2 separate regions of the Homo sapiens genome follow, and region 2 is linked to region 1. The links are contacts of gene promoters, found by promoter capture Hi-C in human tissues and cell types (Jung and others, 2019). All regions are on one chromosome and are shown on one strand. The core of a region is centred on a gene start or on the middle of the fragment in contact, and the rest is flanking DNA. Distances in the headings are between cores, read along the strand shown. Region 1 holds the start of FBXW12 (F-box and WD repeat domain containing 12). Region 2 overlaps PFKFB4 (6-phosphofructo-2-kinase/fructose-2,6-biphosphatase 4).

The links. The method cuts DNA at HindIII sites, captures the fragments that hold promoters and counts their contacts. A contact is called where the count stands out against the background at its distance.
Region 2: a fragment that was not itself captured here is called in contact with the fragment with the promoter of FBXW12 in region 1 in 3 of the 25 tissues and cell types used here (bladder, heart right ventricle and lymphoblastoid cells).

What each region holds. Positions count from the first base shown.
Region 1 is chr3:48,367,325-48,373,468 of GRCh38, reverse strand. FBXW12 (F-box and WD repeat domain containing 12) reads right to left here and starts at 1,250. Exons shown (of 11, transcript NM_207102.2): 1 at 1,149-1,250; 2 at 612-785; 3 at 124-161. The coding sequence starts at 701. The HindIII fragment of the contact is 16,322 bases long and covers 1-5,927 here.
Region 2 is chr3:48,519,994-48,526,069 of GRCh38, reverse strand. It overlaps PFKFB4 (6-phosphofructo-2-kinase/fructose-2,6-biphosphatase 4), which reads left to right. Exons shown (of 14, transcript NM_004567.4): 10 at 401-505; 11 at 2,240-2,369; 12 at 2,471-2,533; 13 at 4,020-4,084. Among named protein-coding and RNA genes, the nearest start is that of SHISA5, 19 kb to the right of the region's middle. The HindIII fragment of the contact is 4,280 bases long and covers 54-4,333 here.

The DNA.
Region 1 (6,144 bases), core at 1-2,500:
TACTCACACTAACTTTCCTGTGTATATCTCACAACACAGCCACACAGGCCTTGGGACACAGCATGGGTGCGCAGTCAGATGATCTCCTCTCCCCTTCCCTCCTTGCCCTTTCCCTTCCCTTACCTCCACAGGTAATCACTGTCTGCAATCCTATTCCAATGCTATGGGAGAGAAAGGAAGAGACAAGCAGGCAATCAGTTACATCAGAGAGCAAGGGTAATCCTCTGCTATTATTTGTTCTGGGAGCTGGGCCCGCACAGGTTAATCAGATGGGATTCCAGCTCTCAAAGCACTCTCAGTGTGGGGAGATAAGGAAATGGTAACAACAGAGACCTATCACTGCTAATACAGGCACTGGGTATTCCCATGAATTCACAGGAAGAAGTGTTGATTTCCTAGGGCTTGAAATGGGAGCCTCAAGGACTGTTTAGTCAGCACAACTCCTGGATATCAGCTTGTCCTTTTCGTTTAACAGAATATGAGGCCCTCAGTATGAAGAATGCTAACCCCCAAAGCCTCAGTGTAACCCTCTGCTATTCTGCAAAGTGGTGCTCAAACTGGTCGAGAGAAGCAGCGGGCTTGGGGGGCAGTGGGAGGTGGAAGGCCTTTACCTTGTTCACCTGGGAAACCTGCAGCAAGCCGAACAGGTCCAGGAAAGAGAAGATTCGCTTCAAAGCTAAGTCAGGCAATCGGATCTCCATTTCATGCGGCCTGAACCCACATCCACTTTCCTTTCTCCTCTCCGGGCTGCTCTGAATTTATAGGCTTTGCCAAAGTCTGCAGCACTTGTAAAGATTTTCACCCATGCCCATCTGTGTGCGGTAGAAACAAGCTGCAGGTGTGCAGACTCCCGGGCTGACCTCCACCCCGGCCTCTCCCCTGGGGCCTGATCCACACAGCTGGCAGGCATCCCTACCTAAACCCACTTGTTAGTGCTGTTCATTGTTTAGAGGAGCTCAGCAACACCTGTGCGCTGTGAGCTGGAGGTGCAGAACCTGGGGCAGCCCCAGTTGCAGATGAAGTTGTCAGAACCCTTTAGGAAATGTCACCGAGTGCACTCACTTTGATCAGATCTGAGTGTCTCTATGACTCTATTTAAGTTCCAAACTCCTGGAATTGGAGTCTGCTTGCCCTGTGTCTGTGCCTACCTTGGGATCTTGAATCTGGTGAGTGGGGCTCATCTCTCAGCGCCAGCATGGCCTCTGGGTTTCTACCTTCTCGCATTTAACTTTGCAGTGGAGGAGAAAGAACGTGCCAAGCTGGCTTCTCCACAGAGGTCCGCCCAAAGGGAGCAGGCCTTGTCTGGGATGGCTCTCCCAGCTGGTGGCTTTCCCTGGGATGTGACGCTTTCCCACAGTTACAGATCTCCCAAGAACCTGACAACTCATTCTGGGATTTTCTAAAGACCGTGTCATAGCCTGGGTGTTTGTGTCCTCTCAAAATTCCTACGTTGAAATTCTAACCCTTGGTGTGATTGGAGGTGGGGGGCCTTTGGGAGGTAAGTGGGTCACAGGCAGAGTCCTTATGATGGGACCAGTGACCTTATAAAAGAGACCCCAGAACGCTCTCTAGCCCTGTTCATATCATGCGAGGACATGAGAAGGTGTCAGCTGCAACCTGGAAGAAGGCCCACACCAGAACCTGACCGTGCTGACAGGTGACTCTTGGACTTCTCTCCTCCAAAATTGTGAGAAATAAATTTGTTTGTAAGCCACCCAGTCTATGGTACTTTGCTGCAGCATAAGACAGGGGTCCCTCTGTGAGGCTCAGTGGCCAACCCTTCTTAAAACTGCTGCCTCCAGGCAGACACACGGGAGTGGTTGTCGGGAGTCCCATTTATGATACAGTAGTAAGAGAGAGGAAAAATACAAATTGACATGGTGAGGAAATAAAAAGGAAAAGCAAAGACCAAGAAGCACCTAGAGGGGCGTGGGGAAAGGCGAGTCAAGGGGTGTGTGGAGAGGAGTGAGAAAAATACAAGGGTAAAAGATTTGTATTCCATAAATAGGAAATAATGCAGAGAGAGCCAGAGCCGTGGAAGGACACAGGAAGACAGAAAGCTTGGAACGGACTCTATTGTAGAGGAACAGAATTAATGCAAAGATATAGAAGGCTGAGAAATAAAACACTTTAAAATATGACAAGGGAAGAGAAGAAACAGTAAAATAAAGGATATTTTAAAAGTATTAAAGCACAAATATTATAAAATACACAGATAGGAAATATAACTGTAAGTGGACTGAGACAGAGTAGGAATAAAATGGAAAAGAGGACAGATGAGAAAGAGGCAAACATAAGGAAACTGAAGCAAATTGCCGAATGAGTGAATGAATGAATTTGAAATAGAGGAACAGAGGCCAGGCACAGTGGCTCATGCCCGTAATCCCAGCACTTGGGGAGGCCGAGGCGGGTGGATCACCAGGTCAGGAGTTTGAGACCAGCTTGGCCAACATAGTGAAACCCTGTCTCTACTAAAAATACAACAAATTAGCTGGGCGTGGTGGCGGGTGCCTGTAATCCCAGCTACTTGGGAGGCTGAGGCAGGAGAATTGCTTGAAGCTGGGAGGTGGAGGTTGCAGTGAGCTGAGATTGCGCTACTGCACTCCAGCCTGGGCGACAGTGCGAGACTCCATCTCAACAACAACAACAAAAAAAATAGAGGAACAGGAAGGTGTGTTGGGGGGTGGTGGTGGCGGGGTGCTACCAGAAAAGCGGCAGAGAAAGACACATTGCAACAATAGATGAAGACAAATCTAAATGTCACAAGAGTTAAGAGATGTAAAATTTGAGAGATGTGAAATGGTAACTGCGTAATAGTCTAAGCAAAAGATAAGATGCAGGTGAGAGAATGGTCCGGACATTGTCTAGGAGAAAGTAGATTAAAGCAGGCAGCTGGGGAAACCTGAGAAGAGGGATCCATAAGGAGTTGGGCAGCCTGAGAGTAGGACAGAGAGGGAGGGACGACACAGCATGGGAAGTAAAGGGGGCGTAGCAAGGGGAGAAGTAACAGCACACCTTTCATGGCGCCTTCTGCAGGCAAGGCACCCGTCTAAACAATTTACAGGGGCTCATCTATTTAATCCTCACAACGGCTAGATGAGGTAAGTCCTATTACTGGCCACCTTGCCAGGGTGCTCCGTGTTCTCTTAGATTCTGAATTTGTCTGGCATCCATCACAGGGCCAGTTGTATTCTCTGTATATTTTTAATTTTCTGTATTCTTGATGCTCTGGCATTTGTGATCTTGCTGACTGGGGAGAGACTCTCCTTCCCAGGCCTAGCCAGATAGCAAAGGAGAGTGCCTTTTATGCAAACGAACCAAGCTACAGCCCACACCCACAATCATCTCCTTTACCAAACTCTCACACAGCAAGTTAATATTCCTCCTGCCCTAAATCAACCCAGGGCCAGGTACCAGACAACTGGAGACGGCCCCTATGCCTCAAAGCCAGCCAGAACCATTTAAACTAGCCCATTCTAAAAGGCTTACCCTGTTCTGCCCTCTTCGTTTCTTACAGAAAACACAATAAAGGCTCAGGCCTATGCTGCCCCGCCCCTTCTGCCTCCTGACTGCCCTTGGTGCTCTCCATGTGGCCCTGCGTGGGGAGCCAGGCCTCTTGTTTATAGGGATCTGTGAGTATAAACTTCTTCCTTCATGACAATCATTGCTGTGTCTGCACGCTTTGCCACACCTGATTAAAACCAATCCCAGGCACCAGTTTTAGAACACATAGGTGGGAGCCAACACATACAGAGGTTAGGTGACTTGCCCACAGTGACACCCCTGGGAAATGGCACCGGGTTTGAACCCCAGCAGTCAGCCCCAGAGCCAGTGCTCTTAGCTGTTATGCTCTAATGGCTCAAAGAGAAGAGGGAATTGGGAAAACTTGGAATGATTAGGAGAAGAATGAAAGTGGATATATTTTTAGCCTTGAGTTTAAAATGCTAAACAACTGAATAAAACATGGTCCTGTAGTCCCAGCCACTCAGGAGGCTGAAGCATGAGAATTGCTTGAGCCCAGGAGGTGGAGGCTGCACTCCAGCCTGGCAACAGAATAAGACCCTGTCTCAAAAAAAAAAAAAAAAAATACAAAATGTGTTCAAAGAAATGAAGTAAAGAGAATGCTGACTAAATAGGAAAGAACACAGAAGATACATTTTTTTAAAATGGTGACAGAGGGAAACACCAAAGAGAGGAAACATGAAAGAGAGATTTTTAAGAGAAATAAGGAAGGACCACAGAAGTCAGCCTGTTGTCCCTGGCTCAGGCTGGGGGACTCAACTGTCCCCAGTGCAAGCAGGGCATGACTGACTTCTGTCTGGCTCCAGAGATATGGGGCTCAGGTGGGCAATCTGAACCCGCATTGGGGTACAATTATTGTGTCACACCCACTGGCCCTGATACATTCCCTGGAGGGAGTCACTGCAGAGAGTGCAAAAGGGTAACAAATTATGCTTCCACTACAAAGTAGCTTTGGGACACATTTATGGTTCCATTTATACAGAGAAGCAAAATGATAGACTTGGTACCCTGACTCTTCCAGAGGCACGTTTTGTGTTCATGGGAACCTCAAGGATGTAAGCCCGGGATAGGGACTGAGCACTGTAAGCTGTATAGTGACTTTGCAGAGCCAATCAGTTAATTTGTAAATGTGAGATGTTGAACTTTGTGAAATATGAGAAAACTTAAAAATCATGATTGGGAACCCATGTGAAATTTAAAATGTAACATTTATAGGTAAATGATATCAAGTAGATTCTAAATTGGTATTTTAAATTTGCTCACAATTATTTAAGTAAATATTCATGCAAGTGGATAATGATGGAGGAGAATATATTAAAATGAATATATTCCTGTTATGGGTTCATGATTCCGTTTATCTAAAACTTCCTTTTAATATTTTATTTTTGAATTGGAAGATATAACAGAAAAAACTTGATACAAATAAACATATATAATTCTGTCTCCAGAATGCTAGGCTAAGAGGATTTTTTCTTTCCTTCTGTTGTTGCTGGGCCTAATTTAAAGAATTAGAGGCACCTTTGATTAAGATTCATGCAACTGATAACTTGGTATAATGGAAATAAAAATCATAATTTTAAAAGGTTGTGAAAACAGTCTCACAGGAGACTAACATGTTTACAGGGATGACACTGGCTTCCAGTTCAAAGGAGTCCATGGGTAAGCCACCCACAGTCCCCGAGAGAAGGAAGCACAGCCATTCACGTGGAAGAACAATTTTTCCTGGTTCTCAATTCTTAAAGCAGGTTTTTTTTTGTATGTGAAATATTAAAAATCACTCCTACCATGGCTACCACTGTAGCTTTACTGAGAGTGGTGCTTGATACACACCCCAGCCTCTCCCAAAACTGAGCTCACTTCCTCCAAGGGGGGCAAGGAAGGTTTCCTTTCAAATGTGGGTGTTGTAGTTGAGGTGCATGATTCAGGTGTCAGTTTTGTTCACTGCCACTTATGCAGGTTTGCTCAGTGATGGTGAGGAGGCCCTGCTCTAAGGGGTCCCTGCAGGGGGAAGGAGCTGGGCTCGCCCATCAGAGGGAGATGGGAGTTCAGCCCAGCTGTGCCTCTCTTTGGGTGGGAGTCTCTGAGAAGGTCATGTAATTTCAGTGCATCTTGGCTCTTTATCTGAAGAATGGAACTCAAGTGGGTTTGCCAAAAGGAGTACCTTGAAAAAGAAATGTCTAGCATGGTGCTGGCCTTATGGTAGATGCTAAAGTCTGTGAAATCCGTATCTCTGAGCCAGGTGGAATCTGGGGAACACTTTCCCAGAAAGTCTGGTCACCAGTCCTTCAGGTCCACCAATGTACTCCCTACAACAACTCTGAGGGGGCAGTGACACAGGGCAGTTATCACCTGGCCAAAGGCACACAGCTGTTGGTGGCAGTGTCAGGAATCACACCAGGCCATTTGACTCCACAGCCATGCTCCTAACCTCTAGGCAATCCTGCCTCTGCAATCCCCTCAGTTACCAAGAAACAACAGTTTCCCTGTGAAGCAGGGGTGTGTGTGCAGCCCTCCCAGTGCCTGTGCTACTGGGAACACAGCCAGGCCTCCTGGCCTTTTGCTGCTGTGGGTGGGGCCTATCATGGTCACCTGGCCCTGAGCTCTGTCACTGAAGAAGAGATG
Region 2 (6,076 bases), core at 944-3,443, 150 kb before region 1:
TTTTTTTTAATGGCATTTGTAGAAGATGATCTATGCTCTGTGTGTGTGTGTGTATCCCAAATAACACAAGTGAAGTTTTCCTTCATAGTTTGCATAACAACCTACACTCACAAGTACTATTTCCACAGCACAGAAAAGAAAAAACACATAGCATCTCTGTGTGTATTGGATGGGTGATGGATAGGTGGACAAGACCATCCTGGTAGCTTTTTACAAGCAAGGAACCACCAATGATCAGTGTTCCTAGAGGTCCTCCCCTCCTTAGACAGGTTTCTGTTCCCTTCACCCAGGAAATGCCCGTGAACTTGGTCTCTTCTGCTTGATGCTGCCTCACCCCACATGTCCCCAAGGCTCATCTTCTGGGCCTGTAGGAGGTGTGATGACTGTGGTATCTCCCTAGGGCGTCTGTGAGGAAATGACCTACGAGGAAATTCAGGATAATTATCCACTGGAGTTCGCCCTGCGGGACCAGGACAAGTACCGGTACCGGTACCCTAAAGGGGAGGTAGGTGGGATTTGGGGCTTAGTCCCAGCCACCTACTGCCCGCCTGGGAGTACCACCTGTGGCTGAGGGCCTGTGGGGCTCTGCAGGGGCTGCGTGGGTAGCAGAAGGGGCCTGGTCTCAGAGGCCTGCCAGCCTGGGTGTGTGGTTCATCTCCACCCCTTCCCAGCTATGCAGCCCAGGCCTTAGTCCCTTCCTCAGGTGTGGAGTGGGCAGTGCCATGTAGGGCAGGCCTTCAACCTGGAGACCTTTGGCTCCCTGCTCTCCATTCTTGTCTTTCCCCTTCCCAGGGGTGGAGAATTCGGAAGGGCAGGGCCTGAGGTGGGGGATCTGCGGAGTTAGGCTTTCCTGGGACCCCTGTAGACAGTGTGCGGTCCCCTGGCATTCCCAGGCCAGCTCCTTTCCCAGCGAGTTGTCAGCCCTTTCCGGGGCGCTCAAATGGCTGGGGAGTTGGGGAGACCATGGCAGGCCTGGGACTCGGGTCTCAGCTCACTCGAGTCCCTGTCTCGGGCCTCATCCTTCCTTTGGATGCTTCCTCTTGTCACAGGCTGAGCCCATCCTGTCCTTCCTGTGGCTCCAGGCACCACCCCCAGCCCTGGCACCAGACCCAGGGAGACCTTCCACACATGAGTTGGCTACCACAAGCCACTGCACTTGTCACCTTCTCTGACACAGTTCAGCCCAGGCCCCAGGTCAGAAACTGAGGGTCACCTTTGACTGAGGCATCTCCTTCCACTTCCAGGAGGTGGCCTGGGGCAGGGGCCAAATAAAAATACACCCCGTCAACACACATATGTACACATATATATACACATGTAGAAGCACCTCCACCCAGAAGCCAGGCTGACAGGTCTCTACACTGTACCATCCTCAGGATAGTATAGCTCTTGGGAACATTAATTATTCCCCACATTATGTTAGGCCAAGTTCAGATTTAGAACCAACCCAGATAACGGTCAGGAGAAACAAAGCAGCTGGCTGCTCAAACATGAGAATACAGTGAGGAGAATTGGTTGAGAAATTCATGTTACCAAAAGAACCGGTCTAGGATTTTCTCAGAACTACCAGGAACTGGCACAAATCAGCGTGTCATTTTTGCTTCCTAATCAAAGCTTGGGGCACGTTCAGTTCTGACTGCTGGAGGCCATTTTTGAAGGACCACTCATTGTGTGCAGAAGGATGAAACTGATGAAAATCTCTAAACCTGCCAGGTTGAGAGGCCCAGCAGGGGCCTAAACCGTACATCACGGCAGGCATAGGGGGAAGATACTGGGCAGGTAGACTGAGGATAGTTCCTGGGGACCCCAGCTGTTTCTGATGAGTCACACTCCAGAAAGTTCCAGGTCTTTGCTCTCTTCCCCTTCGCTCTTGTCAGTGCACTCTGTTTGCTGTGGGCTGGAAGCAGGCGAGGTCTTCTCCACCAGTCACATGAATTCTATAGCTGAGGATTCAGTGCAGAGCCCCATGGGTGGGCACTGAGGTGGACCCTGGGATGGAGCCTGAGGCCTAGCTCTGCGCTCTCAATCCTACCAGGACCTAGCCCTGAGGTGGGAAAGGTGGCCCCTTTCCTCAGCTGCCCACCCCCATGGCCTCAGAAGGCTAGGCTGGAGGAGGCCCAGCCACAGCTTCCCAGAATGGTGAGTAGCTGCAGGAGTGGAAGGTGGCCCAGTGTCCAGGATGTGTCTGTCCCTCCCCCGGAGCCAGGCCTGAGGGACCCCTCTCTGCTTGCCCTTGCAGTCCTACGAGGACCTGGTCCAGAGACTGGAGCCTGTCATCATGGAGCTGGAGAGGCAAGAGAATGTGCTGGTCATCTGCCACCAGGCTGTGATGCGCTGCCTGCTGGCCTACTTCCTCGACAAGGCAGCAGGTGTGGGCTGTGCCCCGGGGGAGGTGGGAAGGTTGTGTGAGAAGGTAGGCACTGTCACCAGGCATTTCTGGTGTGCTAGCCATCCCCCTCTGTGTCTACAGAACAGCTGCCCTACCTCAAGTGTCCGCTGCACACAGTCCTGAAGCTGACTCCTGTGGCATATGGTAAGGAAGCTTCCTGCACATTGACCATGGGTAGCCATGACCTTGGATCTCTGCACAGTTCCATGATTTTCTCCGAATTCCTTGAAAATTGTGTTAGGAGCCCATTCCTCCACCTACTACCCCACCACCTTTCCCAATTTGCTTTTTTTCTTTGAGACGGAGTCTCGCTTTGTCACCCAGGCTGGAGTGCAATGGCGTGATCTAGGCTCACTACAACCTCCACCTCCCGGGTTCAGATGATTCTCTTGCCTCTGCCTCCCGAGTAGCTAGGATTACAGGCGCCTGCCACCATGCCCAGCTAATTTTTGTATTTTTAGTAGAGACAGAGTGTCACCATGTTGTCAGGCTGGTCTCGAACTCCTGACCTTAGGTGATCTACCTGCCTCGGCCTCCCAAAGTGCTGGGATTACAGGCGTGAGCTACCATCATGAGCTACCATCTGCGGCCCTAATTTGCTTTTAAAAAGTTTGTTCTGGGGCTGGGTGCGGTGGCTCATGCCTGTAATCCCAGCACTTTGGGAGGCCGAGGTGGGTGGATCACGAGGTCAAGAGATAGAGACCCTCCTGGCTAACATGGTGAAACCCCATCTCTACTAAAAATACAAAAAAATTAGCTGGGCGTAGTGGCGGGCACCTGTAGTCCCAGCTACTTGGGAGGCTGAGGCAGGAGAATGGCATGAACCCGGGAGGCGGAACTTGCAGTGAGCCGAGATCGCACCACTGCACTCCAGCCTGGGCGACAGAGCGAGACCCTGTCTCAAAAAAAAAAAAAAAGTTTGTTGTGAAAAAGTTTATGTGGCCACAGAAGACCTCCCCAGTGACTTTGCTTAACCATTGCCTACCTGCATGAGGGGCTTTTCTACTGATTTTTCTGAACCCCCACAAGGCCCCTTGGTCCTCAGGGCCTGGACTTTATTCTGGGTGCAGGGCAGTGTGAGTCCCCACCCTGCCTCTTGCTATACCAGCAGAGACTTCAGGCAACTTCTTCATCTCTCAGGTCTTAGCTCTTCACCTTTAACACAGGTGCTCTTGGGGGAATGGCTGTGAAGCCCAGTGGCAGCTGATGTCACTCCAGTGTGTGACAATGGCCTCATCCCCCATTGCACTGTGCACCTGGCACACGGTTGACTGGGCCTTATATGGTAGAGTTGGAATGTGGGTGGTTTGGGGGCCCTGAAGACTTTGAGAGTCAGTAACCTCAACTTAGGCCTGCTGTTCCCCCGATCCCTCTCGGTCCTGGGGTTGGGGAGCCTGGGGCCTCTGTGTGGCCCTGTCTGGGCCGTCACATAGATATGCGTGGGTCTGACAGCGTGTCTCATCCTTCCTCCCGGGGCTCCCCAGAGCTGCCTAAAGTGGAAGAACTAGAGTGAGGCTGAGATGGCTGCTCCATTCCACACGCCCAGACCCCCCTCCAAGAGAAGTTTCTAGCATCTGCAGCTCAGCTGCCTTTCAGGAGTGGGGATGGATTTGCATCTTCCCTTTGGCAGGTTGTAAAGTGGAGTCCATATTCCTGAACGTGGCTGCTGTGAACACGCACCGGGACAGGCCTCAGGTAGCAATGGGGTCACTGCTGGGGTAGCGGGGTGTTCCTGATGTGGGGGTGTCCAGACTGCACATCCTCCAGGGCCAGGCCCAGCTGCGGCACCTGCCAGAGGGAGCTTGAGTCTTCTGCCAAGACTGTTGTCCCATCAGCAGGGCGGGGCCCTGGCTCTGGGTGGGGCCTGCATCAGGCCTTCCCAAGGCACCTGCCCTGGGGATGGGGAAATCCCTGACTCTGGGCCACCAGGCTCAGGAGTGCCTGAACTTGGGTGTGGTTGGAGCCCCAGGACTTGAGGAGCCACAGGGCTCCCAAGCAGCAACTTGGAGGTCTAAGTCAAGGGGGCCCTTGGGCTCAGTGAGAATGAGGCTGGAGGCTAAGAATGAGGCTTCTGGCCTTCTGAGGGCAGGTGGGCACTCTTCCCACTCCCCATCCCTGCAGCCGAGGCCTCATGAGCCCCTTTCCTAACCCCAGCACCTTTAAAAATTAAAATGGGATCATGTACTTTTGGGGAAAGGGCCATGCAGATACTGAAGGGGCCTCAGCATGGGGTGGAGACCTTGGTCCAGAAAAGCAGTCACCACCTGTGCTCCCCAAGTGCCTTGTGGAAGGTAGAAGCTCCTCAGAGTGTAGCTCAGAACCACTCTTAGTCCCATGTGGGGTCCCTCCACAATGTTGGCTCCCTCTCCCACTGGGGCCAAGGATAGGACCTACACTTCTGGGAGCCCCGGTCCCAGTTCCTGGAGGCCACTGCACGGAGAAGGCTCTTGGGCCTCAGTCATGCCTCTTGCCATCCATGATGGGGCCTGCTTGGGCTCTGGGTCCCTGCTGAGGATGCACGTCTTGGGCTGGACCAGGACATCTGGCCTTGGACCTCACAGCACAGGTGTGTAGATGTGTCCTGTCCCTTCCCAACACCACTGCCCCCAAGCAGGACCAGTTACCCTGCAGGCCTCTCTTCCCATTGCTCTGATAGTTCGTGCATGTCTTGGCCAAGTTCAGCCCAGGCCCAATTTGGTACCCACAAGTCACAGGGGAACGTACCTCCCAACGGGCATCCTTTGGGCCAAGGAAGGCCCAGATGGCACTGGGCCCCCAGCGCTGACAGAGTGATGGTAAGAGAGGCCCCTGGGTTGGCAGGGTGATGGTAAGAGAGGTCCCTGGGCCTGGCAGCCCTTGGGAGCTGACCCTACCAGTCCATCACCATAGTGTGGCTGGCGGTCATTCTGCCCACTATGGGTGGGTGCTTCTGAGAGGCAAACCGCTACTAACCCCAGGTTCCTGGATGGCTCCCTTCTGGCCCATCCATTGGGGCAGGCTGTGGTGGAAAAGGGGCGCCTCAGGAAGCCTGCCCAGCAGTAAGAATTATACCTGCCCCTACAATTCCAGGGGCCGGTCCTATGAGCCCAGGCTGTGGGCCATGGGGGCCATGTCTCTCTCCCTGAAGATCTGGGCATGTCATGTTGCATGGGGCAGCAGCTCAGGTCATCAGTGACCTGCTCCTGCAGGTGATGGTTCCGGGGCCCACAGCTGGGAGGAGGGGCCACCAGGCTCTGGGGCACATAAGACAGCCTCAGAGAGCTAAGGGAAGTTTCAGATTCCCTATTCCTCAGGCCTGAGACTCCCTGAGCCCGACAGGCCAAGGATGGGACTGAGCTCTGCAGTTTGGTGGGGTCCTTCTATAGCTGAGGGCTTCAGGAGGCCCTGTACCCCAGTTCTGAGGGGACAGACCAGGCTGCAGACCAGGAAATGCCCATAGGCTTCTGGGGCACCTCTGACACCTGCGTGCCAACACTTTAAACTAGGAAGGAGGCACCCCCAGGAGTTGAACCCCTTCCCTGCCCCACAGATGAGGATAAAATCCCCAAGCCAGGGGTTCCTCCTCAATTGACTCAGCCCTGAGATAGGAGGTGGGAGTGGCCTTGCTTTGGGTATTGCCTGACCTGGCTGCAGTGGAGCAGGAAACGAGGTGGCATCCTCCACCGCACCTTTGTTCTATTGTCCATC